Linked DNA regions of Homo sapiens: region 1 is linked to region 2. Evidence: promoter capture Hi-C in 16 types of primary human blood cells and fetal thymus (Javierre and others, 2016). All regions are on one chromosome and are shown on one strand. Each heading gives the region's core, a stretch centred on a gene start or on the middle of the fragment in contact. The rest is flanking DNA. Distances are from core to core; before and after follow the strand shown.

Evidence for each region. Contacts are between HindIII fragments. The CHiCAGO score rates a contact against its expected background, and 5 or more counts as called.
Region 1: a contact is called between a fragment that was not itself captured here and the fragment with the promoter of GNG4 in region 2, in 1 of 17 cell types (neutrophils). The highest score is 5.5, in neutrophils.

Annotation. Positions count from the first base shown.
Region 1 is chr1:236,018,142-236,021,961 of GRCh38, forward strand. All of the region lies in intron 9 of NID1 (nidogen 1), which reads right to left. Among named protein-coding and RNA genes, the nearest start is that of NID1, 45 kb to the right of the region's middle. The HindIII fragment of the contact is 2,204 bases long and covers 1,362-3,565 here.
Region 2 is chr1:235,648,172-235,651,810 of GRCh38, forward strand. GNG4 (G protein subunit gamma 4) reads right to left here and starts at 1,613. Exons shown (of 4, transcript NM_001098722.2): 1 at 1,491-1,613. RefSeq lists enhancers at 1-112, 2,578-3,429 and a silencer at 1,478-1,587. The HindIII fragment of the contact is 10,274 bases long and covers 1-3,639 here.

The sequences.
Region 1 (3,820 bases), core at 1,214-3,713, 370 kb after region 2:
TACTACAGCCACCATCATGGGGTAACGTGGAGCAAACAAACATAGGCTTTGGAGTTGGACATAGCTAGGTTCAAATCCTGCTTCCTTTAGCTATTAACTTGTGTGGTCTTGGGCAAGTTATCCAACTACTCAGCCTCAGTTCTCCCTTTGGTAAATAAGTATACTACTACTCATCTTGAGGGTTCTTCTGCAGATTACGGAAAATGGATGGAGGTCAGAGAAGCACCCAACAATGTTCCAGACACCCAGCTATGATTATACTAACTAGAGATTCATCCAACACCCCAGCCATGGTGATGAATTTGGCTAACTCTGGGAACACGCCCCTCAGATGGCCGCCAGGCTTTGGGGGCCAGGCTGTGGCTACCACTTGTGTAAGGCTGGTGGGCCCAGGCAAGAAACTGAGCTAACCTGTCATTCCCCCTGGTTATGTGGCCACTGATGGGTTGAAATGAACAGTTACACAAGGTCCTTCCCACGTCAACCTCATACTCAGAGTGTAGACAGCTACTTCTGGCATTTCTAAAACCCTGAGATGTGCATGAGGAGGGCCTCCCAAAGTGCTGGGATTACAGGCGTGAGCCACAGCCCCTAGCCTAAAACAAATTTAGACATGTTTTAGACCTAAAACAAATAAGACATGTTTCTCATAATGGCCGAGACCACACAGCTCTTCTCCCCCTCATAAATCTCTTCCCCAGCGCTTTCATATGAATCGTTGACATGTGGGAGTCAAAGCCTCCTATGTCCACCTTCAATGTCCAGTCTAGCCAGGCCTTTATTGGTGAGACAAATGTCCTACTGGCCTATTGGTCAACATTGCACAAGACAAGCATTCTTGATCACATCAGCCTCATAGTTTGTCCTGTACCCAGGCAAATACCCAAACCAAATGCTCTTCAACTTTTAGAGATTATACTGATATGTGCGTGTTCTGTGACGTGTTTAAGACACAAGGTCTCAGGACTGAACCAGGCACTGCCAGAAGGTTCTGGAACAAAGCCCCTCCCAAAGCAGGCTGTTATGCAAGCTGGAGCTGGGGAGGCTGTGGGGGAGGAGTGCACCCAGCACGTTTGGACTTCACAGCTCCATCCATCAGCTGCCGCTGCAACATGGGAGAAAAAAGGGGCTTCCTGTGTCCACTGCCTCTGTGCTGCAACTCTCAGAGGACACTCCCAGCACAGATGTCTGGAAACATTGTACATATTGCAGGGCTCAGTGACTTAGACTGCATTGCCAAAGCACGAGAGCACAGAGCAGCAGTTTTCAATCAAGAAGACAGAGCAAAATCACAGGGGATCTTCTTCAAGCTCTGTTCCTCCCTGGGAACATTTACGCAAGGGGAAGCTGTGTTTTGGAAAAGCTTCTATGTGACCAGGCTCTTCTCTCTAGCCCTACCTGAAAAGCTATTGACAAATAGGACCTCAGGGCTGCTGGGATGATGGAGGGAATGGTTCCCTAGCACAACCTCCACCTCCATGCCGGCTTACACATACACGCCAGACTAGACAACACCCTTTCTTAAGGGACAAGACCCTAGCAATTTCTGAGCTAATAGTCCACGGTCTTTGCAGTTTGGAAATTCTTCCTAATGTATAATTTAAATCTTCTCTTCTAGGACCAGGCACGGTGGCTCAGGCCTGTAACCCCAGCACTCTGGGAGGCTGAGGCAGGCAGATCACCTGAGGTTAGGAGTTCGAGACCAGCCTGACCAACATGGTGAAACCCCATCTCTACTAAAAATACAAAAATTAGCCAGGCAGCATGTGCCTGTAATTCCGGCAATCCGGGAGGCTGAGGCAGGAGAATTGCTTGAACCCAGGGGGTGGAGGTTGCAGTGAGCCGAAATTGCGCCATTGTACTCCTGCCTGGGCGACAGAGCAAGACTCTGCCTTAAAAAAAAAAAAAAAAAAAAAACAAAAACAAACTTCTTTTCTATAAATTGAAGCCAGGTCCTTAACCCTTTCTTCAGTGGTATTGAAAACTGGCAATAACTGTCTCTCATAACATACCACAGTATCTGCTAGAAAATGATTATTCTTATTATTTAACATCTGGTCAACCTCTTCTCTGGAAAGAGATTTCCTTTCACAGGATCACTTTCTAACTCAATAGGAAAATCCTGGATCATTCTTGTCATTGCTGCCTCCTTTTTGACTTTTTTCAGAGTGGCTACTTTTCACATATTTTCAACAACTCTAAGTTTCTCCAATTTTTCCCTTTTATAAAGGCCAGGCTCTTAGAGGAGAAGAGTCTCATTACCAATTTGCTAAATGCCTTCTACATACTCGACGATTACTCAATGAGAGATGAGCCAAAACTATCTCTACGGGCTCTAAATTGAGAAACAGCGGGAGCCATCCTGCCATGGACCAGAGTGAATCACAGAGCTCTGTGAAATCGTCTCCAAATTACTGTGGAGAGTCACTGTGCGACGTCTCACCAAAACCACCCTTGTTTGGGGTGTCATATACCATCATATCAGCGCTGCACACACTGAATCACAAAGGCTCATCCTCATTCTCCTCTAACGCACTTCCCAAGTCCAAATAACACATGAAGTGATCTGCTTAATGCAATTTCCTATTTTAAGCCTCATGTCTCGATACATTAACACTTCAAGGCATGTTCTAGTGACCCAGAACAATAAGTGTCCTGACTGGGAATACACTCGCATTCCACGGAGGTAATAAGTCAGAACAACCACTCACCACAGGACAAAAGCAAGTCTACATGCGACCACCTGTCTTTCTGGACAAGGATATCGGAGGATTTTCTAGGATGGTGCAGATTACATAAAGGATGGCTGGTTGTGCCTTCTGAAGTGAAGCACTCCCACTGTGGCAAGCTCAGGCACCAAGGGCAGAATTAGCCACGAGGTCACAGTTCAACAGCAGCAGACTGGGTTACTTCTGCACCTTATTACTATCCAGGAGGCTTACGAAGTTGAAGCAGAGCTGTGTAATGAGGAGGCATGGATCGGTGAAGGAGCCCCATCCCCGCATGCCAGCCGTCTCACAGCCTGGGAGGGCTCCCGTTCACACACACACACACAGCATCATGCTGCTTTGAACTGGCCAGAGCCAATTCAGCCATTCAAGGCTGTCAGGCTCTTTGCAGGAAATACTGGGAAACTGACGATTGCAGGTGAGTAGGCACTATGTCCCCTCCCTAGCGATACGTTACCAGGAAGGTAAGTCCCAGACTGAATTCTACCACATATACAAAGCTATCAGCAAGCTGGCCAAACATACAGCCTGCACTATGCGCACAAGTTCCTGCCCTCCAGTATTTCAGACACCCTGACAGGCACCTTGCATGAAAGGTTCACTATGAAGCCAACACCGCGAGGCCCTGACAGCAGGATCTTCTAACCTTCATGTTACATCAGCACACCAAATCTGCCATTAGCTGCGGCTGCTGGATTCCAGACCTCAGGCATGATTCCCGAATTCTGAGACTGCTGGGCTTGCCAGATTCTTATATCTCTGTCAAGCAGGGGTAGAGGGAGCTGTTCATTTTCCTGGCCAACCATATGTGAACACACTATTCATCCCACCAGGGAAGCTTACTTCTAGCATTCCTTATGCTCATTAGTGAGCCCTCTCACTAATTGCAGACTTAAACAGCACTGCTCGAAGCACTTGGCATTCTTGCCCTTAGTAGTGGACTGACTTCCCCTTGGCAGTAGATTACAATTTAGTAACAAACAAATATCAAGCTGCCTACATGAAAGTATTTGAACTTAAGTTATAAATAATAAAATAACTGCAACTAGAAGATGGAGTAATACGATGCTTGAGTCAGAGACTTGTGTTCA
Region 2 (3,639 bases), core at 363-2,862:
CTGGAGTTGTGCATGGAGGTGGGGGCCAACAGGAAGTCCATTGTCCTAAATAGTCATTTCAGCCTAACTAACCCCATGGTGAGGCTGCTCATTAACAGGCAAGGCATCACTGTAAACCTTGCATTTGCATTTACACCTACTATTTATTAAGTGCCACAGCCATCTCTTATCATGACCGGTCACTGAGCAAACCCTACATTTCAAAAACAATCCAGTTTATAGGTCCTCTGTCTGTTTCTCCGGGCTGGAAAAGGCTTTCCATTTATCAACTTAGTTGTCCCCCCAGTCGCCTCTTGCAGGGAACAGGGCCAGATCAGATGGCGGCTGGTTCCCCTCCCCCGCCTCATACAAAAATCAGGAAAAGGAGTTGCGGGAGGAATCGAGAAGCCGGCCGCAGAGCCCAGGTCCCCCATGGCTACTGTGAGGCATTCGCCGCTGCAAATTTCCTGTCCACTGTGGGAAGCGGCACACCTCACTCATGAGCAGACGACAGGACTGGCACGTTTTAATGGAGCACACGGGCGCAGCCTAGGCGGCCTTTTGCTCCGGCTGAGAGGCACGGGCCCGGTGCCAGCATTTGACAGTCCTGGGAGGCGACGGGTAGAGGAGAGACGCGGCAGCCGCGGGGCCGGGGAGACGGTGGGAGGCCCGGCGTCCATCATCCACTTTATTACTTGATCAAACTTTAACATTTTCGGGTTTCCTAACACCTTAGCCCCAAATACTCGAAATGAAGCAAATCTTAAATTAAGGAGTCTTTCCCCACCACGCTCTGTCCTCCTCCCCACTTCACCCTCCCGCCGTTTCGCGTTATTTCCAAGGCAATTTAAAAAATCAAGCCAAACAAAGCTCCCCGGTTGCTGCCGGGCGCGCGCGGCGAACGAAGCACATTTCAGTTCAGCACCAGCCTCGGGGACAGACGCCATCAAGGAGGTGAGGAAAACCACCCTCAGCTGCGGTGGCTCCAGCGTCACCCCGAGTGCTCCCGAGGCGGCGTCTGGGCTGCTGGGGAGCCAGGAGGGCTTCCTCAGGCACTCGCCAGAAACATTTCCCCAAAGAAAACGCCCAACCAGCCACGCCATCTCCTGCCACTGAGGTCCTTTTCCACGGGGGACGTCCCCGCTGGGAAAACAGCAAACGCTCTGTGACCTACAAATGGAAGAGGGGACCCCCGAGCCCCCGCCTGCCTCATGCCGGAGGGACCGGGCGCCCCCAGCCCCGGAAGCCCCTGGACGCGCTCCGAGGGGGCTGTCCACACCCGCGCGCGGGCTTCCCCGGGGCCCGGCGGGAGGTCCCGGGAGAGGAGGCCGAGGGAACCACAGGTCTTTGTGTCGCGTGCAGCAGCAGCTGGCGGCGTGAGGACCACACCGGCGCCAGAGCCGTCTCCCTAGGTCCGGAGACTTTCACCCCGAGTTTCCCTTCCGCGTCTGGCTGCACCGGGCTGGGCTCTCCCCGCGGACACCCGGGGCTCCGGCCGGGCGCCCACTTACCCGGAGCGGGATCACGCGCGGGCTTCGTCTGCAGCGCGGTGCTCGCGGGGGGCGGCCAGGCCGAGCGGCATCGCTCCGCATCGGGGCGCGGGCCGGGCTCGGGTGCAAACGCGCGCCTCGTGCCCCTCCCGCCGCCCGCGGGGTCTCCGCGTCCCGTCACCGGCCCCGCCCCGCGCCGCGCCTCCCGCCCTGCAGGGCCCGACCACGCGGGCCTGGGGGCGCAGGCGGACCCTCCCCCGGCCCTGGACGCTGGGGGCTTCTGCTCGGCCCCCTGTGCCGTGGGGGCCCAGACTGGGGAAGGGAGAGCCGGCGACTCTGCGACCCTCGCCCCCGTTCCACGCTGGCCGCGCCCACTCCGCCGCGGGGTCTCGCCCGGGAAATCCCGCCCGCTGCCACCGACGTCACTGCTGCGTCACCGGGGCTCCCGCGCTCCCCGCCCCCGCCCCCGCCCCAGCCCGGGCCCGCGCCCCCCGCCCGCTACTCGGGCCCACGCCCCCTGTCCCAGCAAAGGGCCGCGCCCCCGCCCCGCCCCCCCGGAGCCCGCGTGGCCGGGGGACCACTGGAGGGGTCTGTGGGGCGGGGCCGGGGGGTAAATCACTGGGGGGGGGTCTGGGGGGCGCGGCGGGGGGGAGATCACTGGAGGGATCTGCGGGGCGGGGCCGGGGGGGAAATCACCGGAGGGGTCTGGGGCGGGGCCGGGGTTGCTGGAGGGGTCTGGGGACGGGGCCGCGGTCAGCGCGGGCTCCCCGAAGCCTCAGGTACCGCCCTCGCTCGGGGTGAGCTCCAGCGCCTGGGCCGTTGGGGCGCGGGCCGCTTCCCACCCTGCACCAAGGGACGCCTCGGAAGCCTCCGGCCAAGGCGGGGAACGGCGGAGAAACGCGGAATACCTGTGCGAATTCGCGCGGCCGCGTCGCCACTAACCCGGCGAAGGCTGACCCGACGTTGCTGAGTGACGGGGACCAGGGGCCGGCGAGGCCCCCACTCCGGGGGGAGCGAGGCCGGGAGGGCGGAGGGCGCGTGCTGGAGGCGGGGGTGCCCTTCGCGCCCCGGTTCTAGGAGCGACTGCTCTCCAGGCCTCGTCCCTGTGGCACCGCAGGCTTTTGCGCTGGAGATTTTAAAACACTTTAGTGATTACAGCCCTCTTCCTTTCAGGGAAAAAACAGTTTAAGCGCCGTCCATTTTCCGACTTGGTAAAATAATACGAAACCTTGGGAATAGAGAAGCAACGAAAACATTTCACGCAGTGTTGGCAAGATTTGTAGAAAAGGAGGCCAATATTAATTCCCTTTGTGAAAACAACAACATAACATCATGATGAACGATTAGGAAATATTTCGGGAAGATCTGGGCGCCTCATCCTCATCCGCCGTCCACAAGCGGTCCCTGCCACAAAGGACACAGGGCGCGCTTGTTGCTCAGATCCCTGGCCCCACTGGTTGGACCTTGCCCTACACACACGTGTACCTTCTCGGAGCCCAAGGGCCAGATTGGATGCGAACGCGGAGATCACAAAGGCCCGTAAACACGGGGCCAGCAAACACATCGGTTTTTACAAAGCTCTCAAGTGCCCATTTAAGGCACAAAATTAAACCTTGGCAAACCGACGAAGCCAGTCCATGTCCACCTCACAGACTTTTAAAAGTGAGAAAGATATATGAGTACTGCATTGAAAATTCAAGCAAATCCAAACCCTAGCTCATTGTTTTCACCCCAAAATCTTATTTCTCCTGCATTTCCTGCCCACCTCCCGCCCCCGACTGGTTGGCTAAGGCAGAATCCTAGGTTTCCTTTTATCCCAAATCCCAATCTCAATTAATCAATCACAAGGGAAATCAGTGTCTACACTTTCAAGCGCATCATTTCCTTATTTTATCTTTCTAATTGTTACACTATCATTCAAGATAGGATCATGTCAGTTTTAAACAGGAGGAAGAGGTCAGTCAACAAGTGGTTCCAGAGTGGATCCCAAGACCAGTAGAATCAGCGTGTCACCTGGGAATCTTTTAGAGATGCAGACTCCCAGGCCCCACCCAGACCTAAGGAATCAGAAACTCTGGGGGTGGGGCCCAGCAACCTGTGATTCCCCAAACCCTCCAGGTAATTCTGATTCCGTTCATCTCTGGACATCACCCAGGATAGCTGCAGTAGT